3 separate regions of the Homo sapiens genome follow, and all the other regions are linked to region 3. Evidence: promoter capture Hi-C in 16 types of primary human blood cells and fetal thymus (Javierre and others, 2016). All regions are on one chromosome and are shown on one strand. Each heading gives the region's core, a stretch centred on a gene start or on the middle of the fragment in contact. The rest is flanking DNA. Distances are from core to core; before and after follow the strand shown.

Region 1 (4,533 bases), core at 1,507-4,006, 540 kb before region 3:
AGCAAACCAGTACCAAATCTAGGGTCCCAAATGTGTGTTTGGTATTTTCCATTATAACACTTAATACTTGAGCTTTTTTTCTTTTTTCATTACACCTTTTTTTGTTACGAGGCCTAGAGATATACTTTATAATCACATCAACATCACAGATATGTATGAAGGGAAACCTGAGGTTCCTCAAAAATGTTTTGAGTGTTTTTTTGCCAGGTTCTTAAGGAAGACTGGTCCATATATGGAGGTTTTAACTCTTAACAGTTTCAGCCTTCCTTTGACTATGTATGTAGTGAACTCTTCTAAGAAGTAATTCCCCTAGGGGCTATGAGAGATAGGATACAAATATATCAAAATGATGGTGTTGGTAGACAGTCATTTGAACTATTATGTACATTTAAATGGAAATCTGATAGAAAATTTGGTTTGGCATATCGTTATGATTTATTCCAAGAATTTATGTAACTATTTTATATGATCTTATGGAAATAAATGAGAAAATAATTTTTCAACTACCAATTTTTAAGACAAAAGCAGGATTAACAAATAAGTTCTCATATACTTAAGGGCATTGCCAAGTTTCTTCCTTTTTAAAAAAAAAAAACCAAACCTAATTTGTAGATAACCCTAAATGTTGCATTTGGTGTGGGCCATATCCAGATTTTATTTTATTTCTTAAACATTTTAGGTTCAATGGTTATAGTTTTATATTTACTTAGTTTTTCTTTTTTCAAATAATACATAACATTTGGACTGTTGAGGAATATATTAATTATTTTTAAAAAAGTAACAACCTCTGACAAAGATCAGAGGGTAACATTTCAGCTAATTCTCTTCTTCAAAAATATATACCTTTATAAAAAATTTAAACAATAAAGATATGTATATAGTGATAGGCTGTCTTGGGATTTATATAGTTCTTAACAGTTTGATATATACTCCTGCGTATTAGTCTTTGTCACATCCAGTGCACATACACTATACCAGAATCATGTAAACATATAAAACATGAACATATAAAACAAATGGATTATACTGCCCCTACCTGATGTTTTTTGTTTATTTACGAACTTACAAACTTTGTTTATTTACGAATATACAAATGTCATTTCCCTTTCAAAATTCAAACAATGAAGGTAAAGCAAAAATCCCTTCAAAACCACCTTCAAGCCCCGAGCCCAGGTGTAAACAGAGGAGAACACTTTTATTAATACGTAGCATGTCTTTTTCTACCTGTTACTGTGCCTTTACATACATACTAAATATCAAAGTATATGGTTTTGCTTTGACTGTGTTTACGTAAATGATACCATTCTGAATGTAATTTTGCCATTTGCTGTGTTTACTCAGTATGGGATGGAGCTTTTTAAAAAAATACTATCGTGTTATTTCGCATCATTTTTTAAAACGGTTGCATAGTATTCTATAATATGGACATATCATAACCATTTTGTCTTCTATAGAAATTTGTTTACTATATATAATTTTTCTAAATGGTTCTGAAATAAGCACCTTTGTACAAACTACATGTGTTTGTGTATATACACACAGATATATTTCTTAAAATAGTCTGGACGTGGAATTTCTGAATCAAAGTTTTCATTTATTTTAGAATTGTGTTAGGTATAGCTAATTTGCTCCAAAAGAGGCTTTACCACATACACTCCCACCAGTAGTGTCTGCTGTCCTACATTCTTTTCAGTTCTGGTTATTATTAAAATTTGTCTATCAGATGGTTGAAAAATATCTCACCCTTTATAAACATCTATGCTTTCTGATAAGATTGATCACCTTCATGTGTTTGGTTATTTATATTTCCTTCTCTGTAGATGCCTTTCAGCATTGTAGCCAACTTTTTGGTTGTTTGACCTTTTTGTGGTTGTTTATTTATACTTGCTTTTTATATATTCCAGTTATTAATCTATTATCTATTGAATATGTTATGTAAGCTTAACTTCAAGACCATGTGAAAGATTTCATTAGCAGTTTTATTTCTAGGCAAACTTGGGTTTGTGAAGCACTATAATGGCTTTCACTTATGAATTGAGGGTGGGTTTGGGGGGCTTTTCAATTTAGTTGTCCTCACCCTTACCCATGAGTATTAAATCAAGTAGTCAGATAATCATGCAGTAGCTCTGGGCAATCAAACCAGATAGAGTTAAAAACCTGTAGGATTATTATGTGGTGCTGAGCCCTGCAGTCTGCCTCAAAAAGCGGGCAAGAGGAATTTGGCCTTTTGTTGTTATGCTGCAGAGTGGCTGGAAAGAAATAAGGTTTTGTTGTAAATAGATTCTTTCTAAACTTTTAACATTTCAGCACAGTCTATTATTCCAAAAATGAGTCTTTAAAAATATATATAAAAGTGATGATATAACCATGGCTTTCTAGAGACCAGCCTTCTGGGACTACACCAAACTAATATATAACTTGGTATGTGTGTATATATATATAAAACTTGATTTACAATTGTTTATAGAACAATAGCAATAAATTAGTACTAAATAGATCTCTCTTCTTCCATGCTGTTGAATATTCTTTGTGATACACTGGGATCAGGTAATTTAAATTAATGAAAGAAAGCAACCATTTGACTTACTGGCAAGAAGGCTAACTTTTCTTGTAGGGACATTGATAGAGGGAAAAGAAGTCTATAAGGTGAAAAAGTAAATTACAAGAGACAGAAGATTGGGCATTAGCAGTAATACAGGCAGTAAGTAGCAGGCACTAAGATTGAAAATAGACAATGACTAAAATAAAGCCACCCTATGGTACCTTCCTGCTGTAGCCATTGAAGGTGTTGTACAACCATCCTGTGTTTTAGGTCTGTGTTAAGGGCATCTAAGTGAATATACTGTACCTTTGAATAAATAGTGTCCTTCTAAGGCAGTCTCATTTAACGGGTGCAGGGGGTTGGGCACCAATAGTAACATATCCTCAAACCTGATGTTGCTAATAAACTTGAATCTTCAAGAAAAGGTTTACATGTTTTCTTTGTACATATAGAATAGTACAATTGATGTTCTTAAAGCTGCAGTAGGCTAAACTGTCTTGAAAATTTAAGTAGTTGAAATGACTAAATTTTGTAAAGGTTCTAAATAAACCTGATTCTGAGCCTCATTTATTATTTAGTTTGCTGTTATGGCTATTATGGCATGTGTTATTTAATTTCATTAATACCAAATAATGGTTTAAATTGTGATTGTCCCGTTACTTCATTGGACTGTTCAAAGTCTTGAATTTTTAAGGGACCCCTTTAAATAAAAGGGCAAAAGTCTTCAAATATATTTTTAACTAGTCAGTTATATCTACCTAGAAATTTCAAGATACTTTATCAATTATCATGGCCTCTATTAAACTTTGTATAGAACTGACTTTATTTCTTATAAATAAAATAGTTAACTAAGGTTGTGCTGCTGAGAATACTGCATCTGCATGTGAATATTAAAATATAGCCAGTTGTCTTATTTTTGAAGTCCTTGAATTTTCAATTTCTAATAATTTTACTAAATTTTTTCATTTTAGTTTAAATTGAAGATGTTTTAAATTTTTACTATTTGATTCTTTTACTTCTGAAAGCTTGTGATTTTCTTTAGCTCTGGGAAGTTTTCTCCTATTATTTTTTCGTAAGCTTTTCCCCTTTATTAGTTTAGTCTTTTCTTACCTAATTGTTATTCAGATATTGAACTTCCTGGGTTGATCCTCTGTCTTTTATGTTTTGTCTTCGCTTTCAAGTTTTATGTCTTTCTCTTATTCTATATTCTGGGAGATATCCTTGACTTTCTCACCCAATCCTTCTATTAAATTTTAACTTTGACAAACAAAAGTTTAAATGTGTCCAAGAACTTGCTTTTTCCTTTTTCCGTGGTTCCATTTCCACAAAATCCTGTGTGTGTGTGCACTCATGTGCACATTTGTGTGTAAAATGTTGTGTTCCCTGAATCAGGGATGGGAAAGAGTTTGATAAAACGATTCCGTAGATTTTCAGTTGCTCCTTGTGCTCATCCCTGTACTTTCTGGCTTAGAAATAGTCACTTCTCTGTTATTCTGCAAGGTAGATAAATTCTCTGCTGTTTTAGCTTCTGAGAATCACAAGTTGTGGCTTTACTGTGGTGTTAACGGTGTTATTCTTCAGTAGCTGTTCGTTCTTTTTTTTTTTTTTTGACAGTTCAGAGCAAAGGGAATGTGCCTTCTTTTTTTGCATCTTTTAAGAATTCATTGTGATTTTTTAGATGCTGATTTCACGTATTCCACCCTCGTCTTATTTTCTTTACCCTTTTGAGTTATTTTATTGGGATTCCAGTGCAGGATTTTAAGCAAGGGAGTAAAGTGATTAAAATTATTATAATTTTTTAATGAAGCATTTCAGACATACCCAGAAATAGTATTATAATGAATTTCCATTACTACTTATCATCCAGTTTCAAGAAATTATCAATACATGACTAGTATTTATTCATCTAGATCCCTACCCCATCTTTTCCCAGCCCTGCTATCCTGCTGGACTAAGATGTGTGTGTATGTGCACATGGTACTCATCATGTA
Region 2 (4,189 bases), core at 81-2,580, 660 kb before region 3:
AAAGGAATGAATATCAGGGTCACATGAAAAAGGCAGTTCTGGGAAGGTACCAGGCACCTGGATTGGCAAGCTAGAGGAGCTTAACAGACACTACCAACTTCAGACTGTCCCAGAGTCAGTGTGAAAAAGCACATAATAGATAATTCCAAAGACTGAGATTTGCCTAATTTTTATAATCTAGGATTCAGTCACATTTATTTTCAGCTTCGTAAACCATTTTTTGTAGAAGCTTTATGAAATATGCCCAGGGTTGGCAATTTTGAGGCAAACAAATTTTCCACTTTTTTCTTTTCTCCTGATTACTATAATTTTTTTAGTCTTATATAAATACTTCTCTCACAGAATTATGAACTTAAGTGCTCTGTGTAGAATGCAATTTTTCTTCTTTTTTTTTTTTTAAGAAAGAGCCTCACTCTGTCACCCAGTCTGGAGTGCAGTGGTGAGGTCTCGGCTCACTGCAACCTCCACCACCTGGGTTCCAGCAATTCTTGTGCCACAGCCTCCCGAACAGCTGGGACTATAGGCGCACACCACCACGACCAGCTAATATTTTCTTCTTTGTATTTTTAGTACAGACGGGGTTTTGCCATGTTGCCCAGGTTGGTCTCGAACTCCTGGCCTCAAACAATCCACCCGCCTTAGCCTCCTAAAGTTACAGGCATGAGCCACTGCCCCCAGCCTTTTCTCTTAATACATCGAAATTTTACCTATGTGGCCAGGTGTGGTGGCCCATGCCTCTAATCCTAGCACCTTGGAAGGCCGAGGTGGGTGGATCACTTGAGGTCAGGAGTTGGAGCCCAGCATAGCCAACATGGTGAAACCCCATCTCTAGTAAAAATGCAAAAATTAGTCATGCATGGTGGCACTTGCCTGTAATCCCAGCTACACAGGAGGCTGAGACAGGAGAATCGCTTGAACCCAGGAAGCAGAGGATGCAGTGAGCTGAGATCATGCTACTGCACTCTAGCCTGGGCAACAGAGTGAGACTGTCTCAAAAAAATAAAAAAGAAATGTTATCTACCTGTTTATGGATTTGGATCTAACTTTGGTTGTAGTAGAGCCTTTTTAAAAAATATCCAGCATATCAAGATCCAACCATGGTGTACAAATGACACATTTAAGCTTCCCTGCAATGTTAACTTTATATAATGATATCTAATAGACATGTATTAAAAGTAAACTATGTGGGAGTACCAACATGCATAAGATCAGTGGGGTTTCTGAGTCTGATTTTTTATTTGGCTGGGAGGAGGGAAGGTTATAATAATTAATGCAGCTTATGTTAAACCTGGGGATGTTCTATACTCCTACTTTTTAGTTATATCATCCTTAAGGTTGCAGAACAAAATCATAGAGATACCCTAGAGCAGCTAAGTAAAAGGAACTTTTTTCCAGGCAAACACATGCTTTTAGCATACCTGATACTTACTGTGATGGAAACAGAGTTGGTAAGAAATACTGATATCAGCAAGCGCCTCCTTCTCCTCTAATAAAGTGAGGCCAAAAATGGTTTTAGAGACCACTTGAAGAAAGCTTATGTAGGATTCTCCCAGAACAGGGGGGATGGGATGGACTGGCTTAGTAGAGTGATGTCAGTGGATTGGGAAAGTCTGCAAGGCTGAGGGAGGCATAGCATTTGGTGAGTTCAGTGGAGTGATTTGTGCTTAGCTCGTTAAAGCTCCTAGAGGAGTATTAGGCAAGCTTAACCTTGAAGCAGCAAAGCAGCCCTCTACCTAAAAACCTGGAATGGGACAACTGATGAGAGGCCCCAGAATTGGCCATCAGTGTCCCTCTCTGTTGTGACCTGTGCCCTGACCTTGCATCTCTTAAGTTGTCACGGAGGAGGGAGATACCCACATTGCCTTCCTTGTAATGTAGTGTAGTAGGGAAGTTCAGAGGAATTCCAAGGCATGAATCTTGTCTAGTAGTTAAAGAAGACAAGGCCGGGAGGCATAACCACTCATTATTGCAAAGTGAGGGATCTTTTTCTTTAAGATGGAAATAGCTTTACTGATTTTTATGATTATAAATATAACACATGTGCACCGCACTTGATCTTAGCCAAAAGGCAGAGAAGTGATAACACATGTGCACTGCAAAAATGCAAAAAATAAGGAAAGAATGAACTCTATGATTTCAGTGGGATTAGTCCATAAATGCTGTTTGATACCTGATTTTTTCACCAATAGTATATTTTAGACATCTTTCCATGATAATGAATATCATTATGGCCACCGGGTATGTCTTTGTGTGAATGTCAAACTTAATGCTGTCAAAAATTCACACTGCTTACAGTATAGTTTCTAAATGAAGAAATAGTGATACAATAAACAAAGAACTTTGCACATGGATTCAATTATTTTCTTAGGCTATATTTCTAGAATTAAAACTGTTAAGTCAATTATTACATACATTTTTAAAATCTTGATGTATACTACCAAGTTGCCTTCCAGAAATTTAGTACCAATTTGTATCCTTAGCAGCAGACTATTGATAGTATGTATTTTCTACATCCTTATCAATTCCACACATTGTCATTTTTAACTCAACAAATTTTATTCCTTACTCAAAATTTTAAGAAACTTCCAATCCCTAAATACCAATAATATGATACTTTTTTAAAGTTTATGAAAAAATAATAGTAGTCTATCAAATATTCATCAATACACTTTTTTTTTTTTTTTTTGAGGAGACATGGTCTTGCTCTGTCACCCAGGCTGAAGTGCAGTGGTGCAATCATAGCCCACTGCACCCAGCCAAGAAAACTATATTTTTAAATAGTCACTCCTGCTTCCCTCTTCTCCCAATCTCTGGCAACTGCAAATCTACTCTCTTTCTGTATGCAAATCTACTCTCTATCTACTTTTTTAAATTTTAATTTAACCTTATTTATTTTTGAGACAGGGTCTTGCTCTGTCTCCCAGGCTGAATGGAGTCCAGTAGCATAATCATGGCTCACTGCAACCTCAACCTCTCAGGCTCCAGCAATCCTCCCACCTCAGCCTCCTGAGTAGCTGGGACTACAGGCTCACTCTACCCTGCCCAGTTAATTTTTTATTTTTTGTAGAGACGAGTTCTCACTATGTTGCCTGGGCAGGTCTTGAACTCCTGGGCTCAAGCAATCCTCCCACCTCAGCTTCCCAAGCAGGGAGGCTGTGTGTCACCAAGATTAGTGAGATTCTTCTTAGCAAGATCAAAGTTTTGCAAAATGTCATTAGAAAATCTGGACCCAAGATAGGGCTATGGTAGGAGAGAAGATCTTTGCACTCTTGAGGAAAGTTACTTGGATGCTCCGGGTAGCAGTGAACAATCTGTGCCATAAACAGAACCAGCTCTGCTAATTCTTTGCTCAATTTATTTGGTTGGTATTTGAAAATCTCCACATTGGAATTGTGGTGATTATACTGCTATAGATACTCTTCAGTGTGGACAGGTGAGTCCTGCTTGATTAGATTCTGTCATTGCACCAGGATGCTGGGCACACTGTGGTTTCTGTTGGATGTGTTGGCTGCAGACTGGCTCCATGGTGAGCAGTTCTATGAAAACTCAGATGGCCAACAGCCACCAATCAGTTCTAGCTGCAACTTCTATCAGACATTTTTATTATAGCCATCCAAGCACTATGTGAAGTTGTATCTTTGTTTTTGATTCGTGTTTTCCTGGTGACTAATTATGTTGAGCATCTTTTCATGTGCTGATTGACCATTTGTATTTATTTATTTATTTATTTATTTATTTATTTATTGAGACAGTGTCTCACTCTGCTGCCCAGGCTGGAGTGCAGTGGCACATCCATGTCTCACTGCAGCCTTGACCTCCCTGGCTCAAGCGATCCTCCCACCTCAGCCTCCCCAGTAGCTGGGACTACAGGCATGCACCACCATACCCAGCTAATTTTTAAATTTTTTGTAGAGATGAAGTCTCACTATGTTGCCAGGGCTGGTCTCAAACTCCTAGCTCAAGAGATCCTCCCACCTTGGCCTCCCAAAATGCTGGCGTGAGCCATCACCCAGCTCTTGATTCAAGACTTCAACTTTCACTCTGGTCCTCAGTTCACTCCTTGGAATTGAGAACAGGATTCCACGACCTGGCCTTTGTTACTGCCCAGCACTGGACTCAAATTCTGCCAATGACCCCTTGTGTTTCTGGCACTTCTGGCAACTACCTTGCTTCCCCCACCTGCTTCCTG
Region 3 (4,498 bases), core at 289-2,788:
GCCTCTTTATCTAGTGACAGGGAATCTAACCATTCTTAAAACTTGTGGGTCCTCGGAGTGAGAACCCATAGGATAGAGAACTGCAATTTGTGGCTATTTTTAGCCAGCAATCACAGAGAGAACTTAAGCAGCCATTAAAAGGAGGCAGTGAACTGTGTTAAATTCTAGATGAAAGAGAGAAACAGCGGAGAGGGCCAATCCTGATGACTCACGGTGCACGAGTTCCCCTTTAAGCAGGGATGTGTCCTTGCAAGGAGTCCCTGCCCTTCCCTGGCCTCAATTTCATCCTCTTTAAAAGGAACTAGTCAGCTGGGTGCAATGGCTCACGACTGTAATCCCAGAACTCTGGGAGGCGAGGTGGGAGGATCACTTGAGTCCGGGAGTTCGAGATCAGCCTGGGCAACGTGGCGAAACTCTGTCTCTACAGAAAATACCAAAAAATTAGCTAGGTGTGGTGGCGCGCGCCTATAATCCCAGCTACTCAGGAGGCTGAGGTGGAGGATCACCTGAGCCTGAGGAGGTCAAGGCTGCAGTGAGCCATGATAGCGCCTCTGCACTCCAGCCTGGGCGACTGTGAGACCCTGTCTCAACAAAAAATAAAAATAAAAGGTACTTGTCGGCTCCTCAGGTCTTCTGCTTTATTATCGCAAGTCACCGCTCACTTGAGAAAAAAGGCGACTTTAATGGTATATACAGAAAAGAGGCGTCTGCCCTCAAATAACAGAGAACATTTATCAGGCACTTTGTTGGGTGCCTGGCGCTGTACTGCGTTCTGTGTACGTATTCTCTACCTTAGAGTTACCCTTCAAGAAAGGCATTTTCATCTCTAGTTGAGATGAAGAAGGAGACAGGACTTGGAGGAGACCTTTGGCAGGGCTGGATGGGAGGGAGCCAGGTCTAGAACTGGAGGGGCAACGCGGCCCCGGGCGCAGGGGCGGGGCTAGGGCCTGGAGGCTGGGTCAGGGGCGGGGCCGGGGCCTGGGACGGGGCGAGGCGGACTTGCCTTGAAGTAAGCGAACTGCAGGAACTTGTAGGGCTCGCGGCGCTGGAAGTCCGCCAGCACCTCGCGGCTGGGCTGGGACTGGCGGAAGGCTGGCAGGCCCTGCTTGCAGCGCTTGAGGCAGTGCGCGCGGCGCAGCAGGCCCCCGAAGAGGCGCAGCTCGGGATAGCTGGCGAGGCCGGCGGCGGGCTCGGGCTGCGGCGCGGCGCTGCAGTTGCGGTGGCAGAAGGCCTCGCTGTCGCGCAGCAAGCGGTGCAGCCGCAGGCTGATCTCCAGGTAGCCCACGCTCTCGGCCCAGTGCTCGCCGCTGTACTTGTCCAGCGCGTGCCGGTAGGCCGACTCGAGCGGCATCAGCTCGTCCCGTGGGAAGCTGCGGAAGCTGTAGCGTTCGTATTGGGCGCGCCCGGCGCGCAGCGCGCAGGCCACGCACAGCAGCGCTAGCAGCGCCGCGGCCCCCCGGCGCCCCGGCTCCATCGCGCCCGGCGAAAGGAAGGAAGGAAGGGACGAAGGAAGGGAAAAGGGGAGGGAGAAGGAAAGGAAAGAGGACGGTGCGACGCGGCGGGCCCAGTGCTTTCGGGGCGGGGACGCCAGCCTCCGGCCCGCCCCGTCCGGCCGCCCCTCCCCACCCAGCCGGGGGATCTGGGCGCCAGCTGCCAGCACCTAGAGGGTGCCCGGGAAAGGCGCGCTGCGCACTGGTTCACGCAGGCTGATGCGCATGATGGGACTCTGCCGCTCATTCACTTGGAGACCCGCCTGCAAGGCCGACGCGGCCCTAATAGATTATATACATCGGCCCTACGGTCTATATAATCTACGATCTTTATATTCGTTTGGAGGTTTGTGAAAACGAAGATTCCTGGGCTGTGCCCCCAGAGTTTCTGATTCAGAAAGTCTGGGGTGGAGGTCTGACGATTTGTGTGTTTAACCAGCACCCTGATGAGGCTAATGCTGCGGGCCCAAGGGCCGCACTTTTAATAGCACTGCCCAACCTTAAATTTTAGTGAGAGAAAAAGACAGTGCAAAAATAAAATTAATAAGGATGTCAGCACTTTGTAAACTGTATAGCTAGTCAGGTTGAAGATGTGCACACCTTATGAATCTGCAACACCATTCGGTGGAATATGCTGGAGAAGCTTGCGCGTGTGCATCAAAAAATATGGATGGAATGTTAATGGCAGCACTTTTAAAAAATCTTTAAACTTTTAAATCTTGAAATAATTTACAAGAAAGCTGCAAAAACAGTACAAAAAGTTCCTATATACCCTTCATCAAGATTCACAAGTTGCTAACGTTATACCACATTTCTATCTTTACATTTTTTTCTGACTCATTTGAGATAGGTTGCATGTATCAGGCCCACTGTCCGTTAGTCTTTTTTTTTTCTTTTTTTTTTTCCTTTTTTTTTTTTTGAGACGGAGTCTCGCCCTGTCACCCAGGCTGGAGTGCAGTGGCGCGATCTCGGCTCACTGCAACCTCCGCCTCCCGGGTTCAAGCAATTCTCCCTGCCTTAGCCTCCCGAGTAGCTGGGATCATAGGCACACACCACCATACCTGGCTAATTTTTCTATTTTTTACTAGAGATGAGGTTTTGCCATGTTGGCCAGGCTGTTCTTGAACTCCTGACCTTAGGTGATCTACCTGCCTCTGCCTCCCAAAGTGCTGGGATTACAGGCGTGAGCCACCGTGCCCAACCCCTTAGTCTTTCAGTATGTATGTCCTAAGAATGAAACTACCAGACAATCAAATTTAGGAAATTTAATACTGATAGAAGACTTTAATCATGTTCCATTTCCGGTTATGTCAGCTGTTCCAATTATGTCTTTCATGGCACTTTTTTCTCTTAGGATGCAGTCCATCCGTGATCACTGTTACATCTAGTCTATTTCATATCCTTTAAACTGGTTCCTCGGCTTTTCTTGTCATGCCGTTGTCATTTTTGAAAAATATAGGCCAAAACAGCAATGAGATACCACTACAAAATCCAAAACACTGACAACGTCACATGCTGACAAGGATGTGGAGCAACAGGAACTCTCATTCATTGATAGTGGCAATGCAAAATGGTACATACAGTTTAGAAGACAGTTGGGCCGTTTCTTACAAAACTAGGCATACTCTACTCATACAATCCAGAAATTGCACTTCTTGGTATTTACCCAAATGGGTTAAAACTTATGCACACACCTGCGAATGGATGTTTGTAGCAACTTTATTCACAATTACCATAACTTGGAATCAACCAAGATGTCCTTCAGTGGGTAAGTGGATACATAAACTGTGGTATATACACACAATGGAATTTTATTCCAAGCCAAAAAGAAATGAGCTATCAAGCCATGAAAAGACATGGAGAAGTCTTAAATGCATATTACTGGTTGAAAGAAGCCAAACTGAAAAGGCTACATACTGTGTGATTCCAGCCAAATGACATTCTGGAAAAGGCAAAACTATGGAGACAGTAAAAGGATCAGTGGTTGCTGAGAATTATGGAAAGGGAGGAATGAATGGGTAGAGGACAGGATTATTGGAGCAGTGAAACTATTCTATATGATAGTATAATGGTGGATATATGCTATACATTTGTTAAAATCCATAATATGTACAACACTAAGAGTGAGCCCTAATGTAAACCGGACTTTGGGTGATAACGATGTGTTGATGTAGGTTCATTGATTGTAACAAATGTACCATTCTAGTGCAAGACATTGACAGTGGGGGAGCTTGCGCATGTTGTAGGGTCATGGAGTATATTTGAACTCTGTAGTTTCCGCTCAGTTTCGCTATGAATCTAAAACCACTCTAAAAAATAAAGTCTTTTTTTTGTTTTTTGTTTTGTTTTGAGATGGAGTCTCGCTCTGCTGCAGAGGCTGGAGTGCAATGGCATGATCTCAGCTCACTGCAATCTCCACCTCCAGGGTTCAAGCGATTCTCCTGCCTCAGCCTCCTGAGTAGCTAAGATTACAGGCCCGTGCCACCATGCCAGGCTAATGTTTGTATTTTTAGTAGAGACTGGTTTCACCGTATTGGTCAGTCTGGTCTCAAACTCCTGACCTCATGATCCACCTGCCTCGGCCTCCTAAAGTGCTGGGATTACAGGCATGAGCCACCGCGCCTGGCCTTTTTTTTTTTTTTTTTTTAAAGAACACAGGCCAGTTAACTTTATAAAAAGTTCCTCATTTGAGGTTTTCCTGATGTTTCCTCATGACTAAATTCAGATTAAGCTCATGACTAAATTCAGATTAAGCTCATGACTAAATTCAGATTAAGCTCTTTGGCTAGAATGCCACAGAAGCAATGTGCCATCCGTCTCAGGTGTAAAATCTAAATAACACAATGCCCACCCCTTGTCTGTGTTAATTTTGATCACTTTATTAAGGTGATGTCTGTTTTCCCTACTTCATTTGTTTTCTTTTGTAATTAACAAGTGTCTACAGTAAGGTAACGCAACATTGTTCTTAATGGCAGAAAGCAGGAATAACCTGTCCATAAACAGAAGAG

Evidence for each region. The method cuts DNA at HindIII sites, captures the fragments that hold promoters and counts their contacts. A CHiCAGO score of 5 or more calls a contact.
Region 1: a fragment that was not itself captured here is called in contact with the fragment with the promoter of CRTAP in region 3 in 1 of 17 cell types (erythroblasts); the score reaches 6.3 in erythroblasts.
Region 2: a fragment that was not itself captured here is called in contact with the fragment with the promoter of CRTAP in region 3 in 4 of 17 cell types (endothelial precursors, naive CD4 T cells, naive B cells and 1 more); the score reaches 6.8 in endothelial precursors.

The regions. Positions count from the first base shown.
Region 1 is chr3:33,653,651-33,658,183 of GRCh38, reverse strand. All of the region lies in intron 7 of CLASP2 (cytoplasmic linker associated protein 2), which reads left to right. Among named protein-coding and RNA genes, the nearest start is that of CLASP2, 62 kb to the left of the region's middle. The HindIII fragment of the contact is 1,627 bases long and covers 1,943-3,569 here.
Region 2 is chr3:33,771,274-33,775,462 of GRCh38, reverse strand. It overlaps the pseudogene SDAD1P3. Among named protein-coding and RNA genes, the nearest start is that of PDCD6IP-DT, 25 kb to the left of the region's middle. The HindIII fragment of the contact is 411 bases long and covers 1,125-1,535 here.
Region 3 is chr3:33,111,054-33,115,551 of GRCh38, reverse strand. CRTAP (cartilage associated protein) reads right to left here and starts at 1,538. Exons shown (of 7, transcript NM_006371.5): 1 at 1,004-1,538. The coding sequence starts at 1,474. RefSeq lists enhancers at 1-827, 3,708-3,917 and silencers at 779-968, 1,409-1,708. The HindIII fragment of the contact is 4,978 bases long and covers 1-2,135 here.